Regions from separate parts of the Homo sapiens genome. Here region 2 is linked to region 1. Evidence: promoter capture Hi-C in 16 types of primary human blood cells and fetal thymus (Javierre and others, 2016). All regions are on one chromosome and are shown on one strand. The core of a region is centred on a gene start or on the middle of the fragment in contact, and the rest is flanking DNA. Distances in the headings are between cores, read along the strand shown. Region 1 holds the start of DCP1B (decapping mRNA 1B). Region 2 holds the start of FOXM1 (forkhead box M1).

Region 1 (5,277 bases), core at 2,778-5,277:
CCTGAAAGCTCCTCTCTTCCTCTCCATTCTAACATATTCTACTACAGGACAAATGCCAGACTTAGAGGGTATTTACACAACAAAGAAAAGAGTACTAATAAAGCAGACTGTGTATTTGTGTTTTAAAATTGTGATGATATAGTCAATCTATATTTGTATGCAAACATTCATTCATGCCTACAAAACCAGTTTTCAGTTATATTCTGATTTTCAAAGAATCTAAACATACTGTCTTCTTACAATTACCTTAATTGATTAGATGCTGAATTTTGTCTTACTCAGTCATTGCCATGGTATAAAAATTCCAGACCCAAACATTATTTTTTTATCATTCTACAAACTTGTTTTAAATTGCAGTATCCAACTTTGTAAAACCAAGTGTGAGCATATGTTTAATCTCATAATGACAATTATAATATAATCATGAAACTCGAAGTCACCAATATTTGTCCAAGGTATCATCATGAGGCTTATGGAAACACAGTGGAAGTACGCCAGCACTCTGGGCGCCAACAGAAATGGAAGTTACACGGATTAAAAAAGAATTTGCCTATTCGAAATGGTCTTTTACTAATATCGAGCCTGCAACTTAGTATATTTGGTTAAGTGATGATGACCTGGTTTTACAAACACAGATTATTCAAATAGAAAGAAGGCAGAAGGCTGGCGTCATCCTAGAAGGTCAGAGCTTTAGGCCTTTGTGGGGAGGAAAAAAGAATAAAAAATAAATAAATCTCTGTGGGCCAGGGAGATGAACAATATGGCAATGCTGAAGTCATTGCAACATTATTTATCTTTTTTCTCTGAGTATGATTTCTAATCTTCAAGAGTTTTTTGTTTGAAAGTTAAAAAACCAAAAACCTTTCCATGTTTTTCTATCTCCCTTAGAATATAAAATCTGAGAGAACAGGACTTGCTATTGCACGTTTTTTTATCCCAACTTGGATTTCATTATTTTATAAATCATGAGCTCTTTAAAAAATGCTGACATTTAATGAGTAAATTCAACTAACTCAGGGTTTAGTTCAAAAGAATAAGCATTTATTGAATCTCTATTATGTACAAGGCATTGGACCAAGTGCTAGGGAGACTACGTGGTGATAAGCACATAAAAAATAACATCTCCATCCTGAGCAACGTAGTGAGACCCCATCACTACAAAACATAAAAAGTAACATCTCCATCCTGAGCAACATAGTGAGACCCCATCACTACAAAACATGAAAAATAACATCTCCATCCTGAGCAACGTAGTGAGACCCCATCACTACAAAATATAAAAAACATTGGCCGGGCATGGTGGCACCAGCCTGTGGTCCCAGCTACCTGGGAGGCTGGGGTGGGAGGAGTGCTTGAACCCAGGAGGTCAAGTCTGCAGTGAGCTGTGATTGTGCCACTGCACTCCAGCCTGAGCGACAGAGAAAGACCCTGTCTCAAAAAATAAATAAATAAATAAATAAATAAGTAAAACTTTATGAAACATACTATTTCCTCCTTTTTGCTTATCTGTCAAGAAACTCAAAGCCCAATTTCTTGTTCAATTGCAATAATGTTTTCAGGCTAGATTTTCTATAACAATTCTCTTTTATTACAATGACTGTTTTTTTTTAGAATTGGAAAAAAATGTATATGTAACGTAGTAAATAAATAAGTCTAAGTCAGGATAAAGTGAGCTAAGTGCCACAAGAAAAATCGCAACAGAATGCAATGAGGATTCATAGGCTGAAAGGATTGTATGGGAGAAGACAGGAGGTGAGTTTTCCAGGAAAAGGTCATTCCAAGCTAAGAAGACAGATGGGCAAAGGTACAGAGATAGGAATGTGTAAGATACTTGGGAGAAAAGAGTTCAGATACAAGGAGGTTAGAACAGAAGATGGGTTGTTTCATTAACTCTAAACACACAAAAAATTAACTCTTCTCTACTAAGGGTCATATTAGCATGTTGTTCACATATGTGAAATTTTCCCCGTAAGCAAAGTAAGGGTATCTTCATCTTACTCATCAGTGAGATCAAAGACTGGAGAAGACATGACCATGTAATTTCAGCACAGACACAAGAAGCAATAATAAATCATGAAGAATTAATGAATTTCATCAAGTGAGCACTCCATAAATGCTTTGCAATTGTAGTCATACAGATCACTAAGACTTGTATACACTTTTGTTTTATGAACATTTAAGCTTTTACAATGGCCCCTATATTGCCTGTCTTCTCTAATGAGCTCAAAGCAATTCGTTCTTTGGAGGCCATGATCTATTCTTTACACTTTAAAGATGGAAAGACTGAAAAATTATGAGGACAATGATCTGTGTAAGGATCATGGAACTTAACAGACAAAAGAAAAACAATGCCTCATTATATGTACGAGGGAAATGCAAAGTAGAATCTGTGGGTTCATGCTGAAAAATCAAAATTAGAACAGCTAATCAAGTGAGAGAGTGTGACTAGTTCAAGAATTAATCACAAAATTCTCCATTGCCCATATTACAGATTAAACTTGTTTTTAGAAGCACATATGTGATTAAGAGCAAAGAGGTCAGTAACACTGGAAAAAGGTAGTGAACTAACATGGAAAGTTGTCTAGTCAGCTTTGTGTGGTTGCTCAGTTGCTGCAGCCCTATGTTTTTCAAACTACAGGTCACAATCCATTAGTTGGTCATGAAACCAATTTACAAAGTCACAAATAGCATTTTAAAAAATGTCTGTATACTTAGTATTGAAACATTTATTCTAGTTAATATCAGGTATAAATATATAAACATATGTTCTCAGTCAGACTGCAAATGACCCCAGCCTCAGTCAAAAAAAAGTTGTTTGAAAGCCATTGCTGTATTCTTCCCCACTGGGAAGTTAGGCTTGGGAGTCAATAGGACTGAGACTCCAAAATGCAGCTTAACCAAGAATTTCAGTACAATTGAAATTGTGACTGCAAAGATTATATTGCAACATATTATTATGAGAGGGTATGTGTGCCGTATCTATGATATTTCTATATCAAATAGGTAAGAATTTATGAATGTGAGTAGTAATGTCTGCACAGTTGTTCTAATATTTAATGCTAGATAAATGGTTTAGATCAACCATTCTCAACTTTTTAGTCTCAAGACTCCTTTACACTCTTAAAAATTATTTTTTTAATTACTTTTTATTTATTTTATTTTTGAGATGGAGTCTCGCTCTATCACCCAGGCTGGAGTGCAGTGGCAGGATCTCGGCTCACTGCAACCTCTGCCTCCCGGGTTCAAGCGATTCTCCTGCCTCAGCCTCCCGAGTATCCGGGATTACAGGTACCTGCCACCACTCCTGGCTAATTTTTGTATTTTTAGTAGAGACGGGGTTTCACCATGTTGGCCAGGCTGGTCTTGAACTACTGACCTTGTGATCCGCCCGCCTCAGCCTCCCAAAGTGCTGGGATTACAGGCAGGAGCCACCGCACCTGGCCCACTCTTAAAAATTATTAAGGACTCCCTCAGAGAACTTTTGTTTATGTGAGTTATACCCACCTATATTTACCATATTGGAAATTAAAAATAACTTTAAAGACCCCGGGCTATGTGTGTTTTGTTTGGAGTATATGAAGAAACTCTGGCCTCATATGTAGATAATGTAGTTGGAAAAGAGATGGATATTTTAATAGAGTTTTTCAGACAATTGTGGATATTCTTCTTGGATAATATACCAAAACTTGACAAGCTGGAGTTTCTCAAAGCTTAGCTGCAATGTACTATCTGAAATCCTATTAACTTTTCATACTGTTACATTAAAAATCCATTAGTCCACCTTGTCCTTGAATGGATCTTTTGCCTGTGCATGATTATGTAGCATGAGACATTGGTCTTTTGGAAAATACTGGACCACTGAGTTAAGCAGATCTTTGAGATATTGACACTTTCCATTATACAAGATTTGTTAAAATTGCGCTCATTAATATCATCACTGATCTCATCAGAAAAAAAAACATTAAGTACTGAGATGTCAAGCTCATGGCAGTAGATACACATTTTCTAAACTTTTAATTCTGGCTTGAAGGCTTAAAAATTATCATTGGCAGCAGTAATTGTCCCTTGTTTTCCTGAAAGTGACAGGCACACTTTATTTATTTTCAGAAAAATGTCTGTCAAGTACCTGTTTGAATAATCATAGTTTGCCCATCTTTCTTTCAAGTAAAAATGTTTTATGAAAATAAAAATAAAAACATGAATTCGGCCTACAACTCAAGCACAGAAGTATTTTCCTAGAGACAAATATGACACACTTCATTTTGCAGCAGACGTGCTTTATGCCTATTTCCTATTTTTTCATGCAGAATGTTAAAAAGAATTGTACCCAAGGATTAAGCTTCAATGAAATTAATAATTCTTACTGCTTATCAAGAACACCATCAGGTGACACTGGCTCTCTACCTTCTTCTTTTTTTTTTTTTCTTTTGTAACTGAGAGTGCAGATTAGTGACGCGTACTTTGACTAGCAATACAGTTTGGTGCCCCTGCCTTGATTGGGTTAAACCACCGGCGCTTTTAACCACCATTGTCTGCAAAACGTCACCACAGTGAACAAGTCAAATAAGTAAGTCTCAGCATTGTCATAAAAGGTTTTGTTTTTTTTTTGACCTTGCAGATCCCCTGAAAGGGTCTCAGAAACTCCCAAAGGGTTCCAGGACCACACCACACTTTGAGAACCACTGGGTGTTAGCGCATTCAGAAATCAATTCAGTTCTCTTTCTCTTCAGAGTTCTTGATGCTCGAGGCTTATTTATTGTGATAGATTTGATCACTGAAGCGCCAAAGAAAAGATATGCCAAGGGGTCGAACACATCCAAGAAGGAAATCCTACCGCACACACAGCTCAAAGGCTCGAGCGCGTAGAAAAACAGCTCTTGGAGAAAGAAACGGGATGCAGAGGGCAGGCCTGGGCTTGTCGTTGCCAGTGGCAACGATCCTCAGTGGGCGGGGCGCGGCCATCGATTAGTGAGGCCTTGCGTCTGTCGGCGGGCAGGAGGGTGGGGGTGACTGGAGCCGGAAGGCCTCCCGGGCCGTGTGGTCGCCGTGGGTTCTCGGTTGCGAGGCAGCTCGCTCGTTCTGCGATCTATTGAGAGTGGCTTCCAAGAGCCCCGTGCCTATGTCTGGGAGGGAGGGAAGATGGCAGCCGTGGCGGCAGGCGGCCTGGTGGGAAAGGGGCGCGACATCAGCCTAGCGGCCCTGCAGCGCCACGACCCCTATATCAACCGCATCGTGGACGTGGCCAGCCAGGTGGCTCTGTACACCTTCGGCCATCGG
Region 2 (5,277 bases), core at 1,021-3,520, 870 kb before region 1:
GGCAGATCACTTGAGCCCAGGAGGTGGAGGCTGCAGTGAGCCGAGATCGTGCCACTGAACTCCAGCCTGAGTGACAGAGCCAGAACCTTGTTTCAAAAAAAGAAAAGAAAAAAAAATTCAACAAGTTTAAAACTGAACTTGGCCGCGCACAGTGGCTCATGCCTGTAATGCCAACACTGTGAAAGGTGAAGGTGGGAGGATCACTTGAACCGAATAGTTCAAGATCAATCTGGGCAACAGAGTGAGACCCTGTCTCTACAAAAGATACAAAAATTAGATGGGTGTAGTGGCATGTGCCTGTAGGGGGTCCCAGCCATTCAGGAGGCTGAGGTGGGAGGATCACCTGAGCCCAGGAGGTTGAGGTTGTAGTGAGCCAAGGTCATGCCACTGGACTTCAGCCTGGGGGACAGAGCAAGACCCTGTCTCTAAAAAATAAAAAGATAAATAAAAATAAATATATAATTAAAAAAAAAACTCATTCTGAGCATTGCTTTGTAGTAAAAAAACAAAAACTGAATTCACGATCATTCCCCTGACAACCCCCCGCCCGTCCCTTGGCCAAAGTGATTATCTTCCAGGGCCCTTGGTCAGGGAATAGTGTCATTATTCCTTCAGTTATGCAGCTGAAAATCTTGACACTTCTACCTCCCATCCAACCCACCATCAAGCCCTGTCAACTTTACCTCTTAAACATGTTTTCTTAATGCCCCTTTTTTACTCTCTCTGTCTCCTTCTTTCTCTTCCTCTCTCTCTCTCCCTGCCACCCTTTTTCAAGCTCCAGCAGTTCTTGCCTGGAGTATTGCAACATCCAACTGTTCTGCCCTAATCCACTCTAGCAATCCCCGCTATAGAGGGACCTTTTAAAATGCAAATCTGACCTGGATTCACTTCTGCTTAAAGCTTATGACTGGTTTCCTTTAATTCTTGGATAAGCACAAAACTTCTCGGTATGGCTAAGGCTCTGCTTCCTCCGGCTCCAGCTTCAACTCACACCACACTCCATTCAGGTCGATTAGCTCAAACCCCTCAGATATTTCTCAGCCTTTGTACTCACTGTGCTTCCTCCTGCCATCCAGCCTTTGCACGCCTGATTCCCTCTGCTTAGAGGAGTTCCCTCCTTTCTTTGTAAAAGGCATCAGATCTCACACCAAGCTCTCATTACAAAAGCCTTTCCTGTCCTACCTCTCAAGATCTCGTTATTGTAAATACTCAAAGTATCATTAACCTCTAATGTTTCAATTTACAGCAATAATTCAACATTTGTTTGTTTTGGAGACGGTGTCTCCCTCTGTCGCCCAGGCTGGAGTGCAGTGGTGTGATCATGGCTTACCATAGCCTCCACCTCTCGGCCTCAGGTGATCCTTCCACCTCAGCCTCCAGAGTAGCTGGGACTACAGGCACGCACCACCACGCCCGGCTAATTTTTAGTAGAGAAGCGGTTTCGCTATGTTGCCAGGCTGGTCTCGAACTCGTGACCTCAAGTGATCCACCCGCCTCGGCCTCCTAAAGTGCTGGGATTACAGGCGTGAGCCACTATGCCCAGCCCACATTTGTTTATTTGATTAAAATGTCTGTGCCCCTCTTCCAGGATTGGGCTGTGAGCCCAGGGGAAGGAAAGAACCTTGTCTGCCATTGTATCTTCAGGGCCTAGCGGTGCCTGGCGCACAGCAGTTGCTCAACTAGACTGGTTGACTAAGTCAATAAATAAAGCACTACGGTCTATTATATCCGAAGGCTTGGCTTCGGGAGGGGCAAAAGACAGGTTTCGCGCTGAGGTAGGGTTCATGGTGCCGACATTTTTTTTCAAGATGGAAGAAAGCGGAGATAATACGCAGCCCTCAAAGGAACTTAGTCTAATCGGGGGGAGCAGACGATCGTTCACTGTGGGAAAATGGGGTACGATTTCCCCCAGTGAGGAAATCAACTAAAGCCGAGCTTTGAAAAGGGGAGCAGAGGAGCCTGAGGGGAAGCGGGGGCGTGTCGCCTGGCGTGACCAGCGCGGCAGGAAAAGCGGGCCCAGGGACCCGGGCCTGTCACGCCGCTTCCGCGCGTCCCCAAACTCTCCCTCGGCTCGCCCACCCACGCGGCGGGGACCCCTCCGGCCCCTCCCCGGCCCCACGGCCACTTCTTCCCCCACAAGCCGGCCTGCGGTCCGCCTTACCAGCCCGGGCCGGACGGGGCCGCAGCTCCTGGCAGACCGCACAGCCTTCGAGCCCGGAATGCCGAGACAAGGCCGGCGCCGATTGGCGACGTTCCGTCACGTGACCTTAACGCTCCGCCGGCGCCAATTTCAAACAGCGGAACAAACTGAAAGCTCCGGTGCCAGACCCCACCCCCGGCCCCGGCCCGGGACCCCCTCCCCTCCCGGGATCCCCCGGGGTTCCCACCCCGCCCGCACCGCCGGGGACCCGGCCGGTCCGGCGCGAGCCCCCGTCCGGGGCCCTGGCTCGGCCCCCAGGTTGGAGGAGCCCGGAGCCCGCCTTCGGAGCTACGGCCTAACGGCGGCGGCGACTGCAGTCTGGAGGTGAGCGGGATGCAGCAATGGAGTCCCAGGCCTGGCCTGGGCACAGGCGGGGAGCAAGGCCTCCGGGCGCGGAGGTCAGGGCGTCTAGCAGCAGGGCACGGGCCACGAGTGGAGATTTGGGTCACACGGGAAGAATCTGAGCCAGGGTGCAAGTTTTTTCTGCGTCCACCTCCTGGCCGTGGCCTTCTCACTGCTTAAAGCGCCCCTTGGCCTTCCCTGGAAGTCTGACCTCCGCACCCTGCCCGCGGCCTCGGGAGGGCTGGGGTGGCCTACCTTCTTAGGCCGACTGTGGCTGAGATGAAGACTGAGATTGTACTACATTGAGTCAAAGACCAACCTGCATACACACTCCCCTGCTCCCAGGCTGTCTCACCACTAGGCAACACCGCCTCCATCTTACTTACCCTTTTGCAGGGCCCTTTTCCTGGTTCTTGAGAATGTAGCAAGATTTCCCCGCTCAGGATGGGGATGGGTCGGAGGAGCCACTCTGGAAGTTTCCCGGGCAAGAAAGTGTTGGCAATAATAATAACGGGCTGGTCAGGAAGTAGAAGAGAAAATTAAGACTTAGATATCCTGTGGAAAAAGAGGAATAATATCTACTGATTGATGCGGGGAGAGAGGGAAGCCTGGAAAGATCGGAGGTGAAAGTAAAACTGAGATTTGAAGGTAGAGGTGTGGAGGGCCTGTGAACTCTATGCAGATGACAAATGTCAAAAAAGTGCAGTTGCTTTTCAGGGAGAGAATAAGTGTCCTAAAAAAGAGACAGCCAATTCCTCTGTCTTCCAAAGTTCCGTGAAATAGAATTACACAATTTTGCTTAATGGTAGAATATTCCATGTATCTATTAAAATCAACAAAAGGCCGGGCGCAGTGGCTCACGCCTGTAATCCCAGCACTTTGGGAGGCCGAGGCGGGTGGATCACCTGAGGAGTTCAAGACCAGCCTGGCAAACATGGTGAAACCCTGTTTCTACTAAAAAAAAAAAAAAAAAATTAGCTGGGCATGGTGGTGCATGCCTGTAATTGCAGCTACTCGGGAGGCTGAGGCAGGAGAATCGCTTGAACCCGGGAGGCCGAGGTTGCAGTGAGCTGAGATTGCGCCATTGCACTCCAGCCTGGGTGACAAGAGCGAAGCTCCGTCTCAAAAAAAAAAAAAAAATTAAAAAAAATCAACAAAAGACTTAAAAAAAAAAGACTACACTGTTAGCATTTCAGAACCACCTTAGTGTAATGATGATAGCTCATTGTGGTACTAAGAAGACAGGGGTTATAGTCTTATTTCTGGAAAAGAAATTAATAAAGTGGCATGCTTAGTTAAAATATATATAACCACATGCAAGTACTAAAATGCCACTGTATAAATACAATACAAATTGTAAAAGAAAACATGCTTTTTAAATTAGAGCAAGTATAATAGCCTGTGAAATAAATGTCACCCTCTAGAGTTGTTCAGTGCACAAGCTGCACAACTTTACATGGGCCTTCAGTAGAGGTTTCCATTTTATGTGAGGTTTTGTAAACTGGGAGATGATTTTTCCAGTAGTGTGGCAATAGTACAATCTGCCTTTCTTCCCTGATTCTGTGTGCACTGGTCCTATTTACAAAGTAATATAAAAATCAAAAGGCTTGGCCAGACGCGGTGGCTCACGCCTGTAATCCCAGCACTTTGGGAGGCCGAGGCGGGCAGATGACCTGAGGTCAGGAGTTTGAGACCAGCCTGAGCAACATGGTGAAACCCTGTCTCTACTAAAAATACAAAAACTAGCCGGGCGTGGTGGTGGGCACCTGTAATCCCAGCTACTCAGGAGGCTGAGACGTGGGACTCGCTTAAACCCAGGAGGCAGAGGTTGCAGTGAACTGAGATCGTGCCACTGCACTCCAGCCTGGGTGACAAAGTGAGACTCTGTCTCAAAAAAAAAAAAAAAAAAAAAATTAAAATCCTTTGTCTTGAATGGATTATGGGATCAGAGTTTCATCAGGACTCCTAATTACCATATGCTTTCCTATTCTAGCATCTTCCATTTCTGTCCATACAGTCATTGCAAGTGATCTATTTATATTATAGTAGGCAATTATAGAGATTTCCACATATTTGTAGCTATCCCATCCATTTCTGTAGCCAAATATTCTGAAGCTTCAAGGAGATCTTTGTCTTATCTCCAACCCAGTCCCATTTTTGCCCTTTGAATTGCTTCTGTCTGCTGTAATTTTAGCCTTCTTTTGTCAGTAAAGCTTATCTCCTTATTATCTGAGGTCTTTACAAAAGTCCATGGAATGTTTACCTGGGCCTTTAGGCTCATGTTCCTGGTCATATAAAGAGGAGCACCTTTCTCTAAAAGGACCTCTTCTCAGCCTAAACAATCTCTAACATCTTGCCACTATTTGCATTTTCCAGGGTCCACACTTGTGATTCTCAATGGAGAGTGAAAACGCAGATTCATAATGAAAACTAGCCCCCGTCGGCCACTGATTCTCAAAAGACGGAGGCTGCCCCTTCCTGTTCAAAATGCCCCAAGTGAAACATCAGAGGAGGAACCTAAGAGATCCCCTGCCCAACAGGAGTCTAATCAAGCAGAGGCCTCCAAGGAAGTGGCAGAGTCCAACTCTTGCAAGTTTCCAGCTGGGATCAAGATTATTAACCACCCCACCATGCCCAACACGCAAGTAGTGGCCATCCCCAACAATGCTAATATTCACAGCATCATCACAGCACTGACTGCCAAGGGAAAAGAGAGTGGCAGTAGTGGGCCCAAC

What was found. The method cuts DNA at HindIII sites, captures the fragments that hold promoters and counts their contacts. A CHiCAGO score of 5 or more calls a contact.
Region 2: the fragment with the promoter of FOXM1 here is called in contact with a fragment that was not itself captured in region 1 in 3 of 17 cell types (total CD8 T cells, fetal thymus and naive CD8 T cells); the score reaches 5.8 in total CD8 T cells.

What each region holds. Positions count from the first base shown.
Region 1 is chr12:2,004,294-2,009,570 of GRCh38, reverse strand. It overlaps DCP1B (decapping mRNA 1B), which reads left to right and starts at 5,114. Exons shown (of 9, transcript NM_152640.5): 1 at 5,114-5,277. The coding sequence starts at 5,140. It also overlaps a transcript of CACNA1C not described here. RefSeq lists an enhancer at 4,839-5,068. The HindIII fragment of the contact is 629 bases long and covers 3,713-4,341 here.
Region 2 is chr12:2,874,167-2,879,443 of GRCh38, reverse strand. FOXM1 (forkhead box M1) reads left to right here and starts at 2,270. Exons shown (of 9, transcript NM_021953.4): 1 at 2,270-2,524; 2 at 4,919-5,277. The coding sequence starts at 4,966. RHNO1 (RAD9-HUS1-RAD1 interacting nuclear orphan 1) reads right to left here and starts at 2,221. Exons shown (of 3, transcript NM_001252499.3): 1 at 2,162-2,221. RefSeq lists an enhancer at 1-381 and silencers at 1,965-2,404, 2,445-2,514. The HindIII fragment of the contact is 3,757 bases long and covers 903-4,659 here.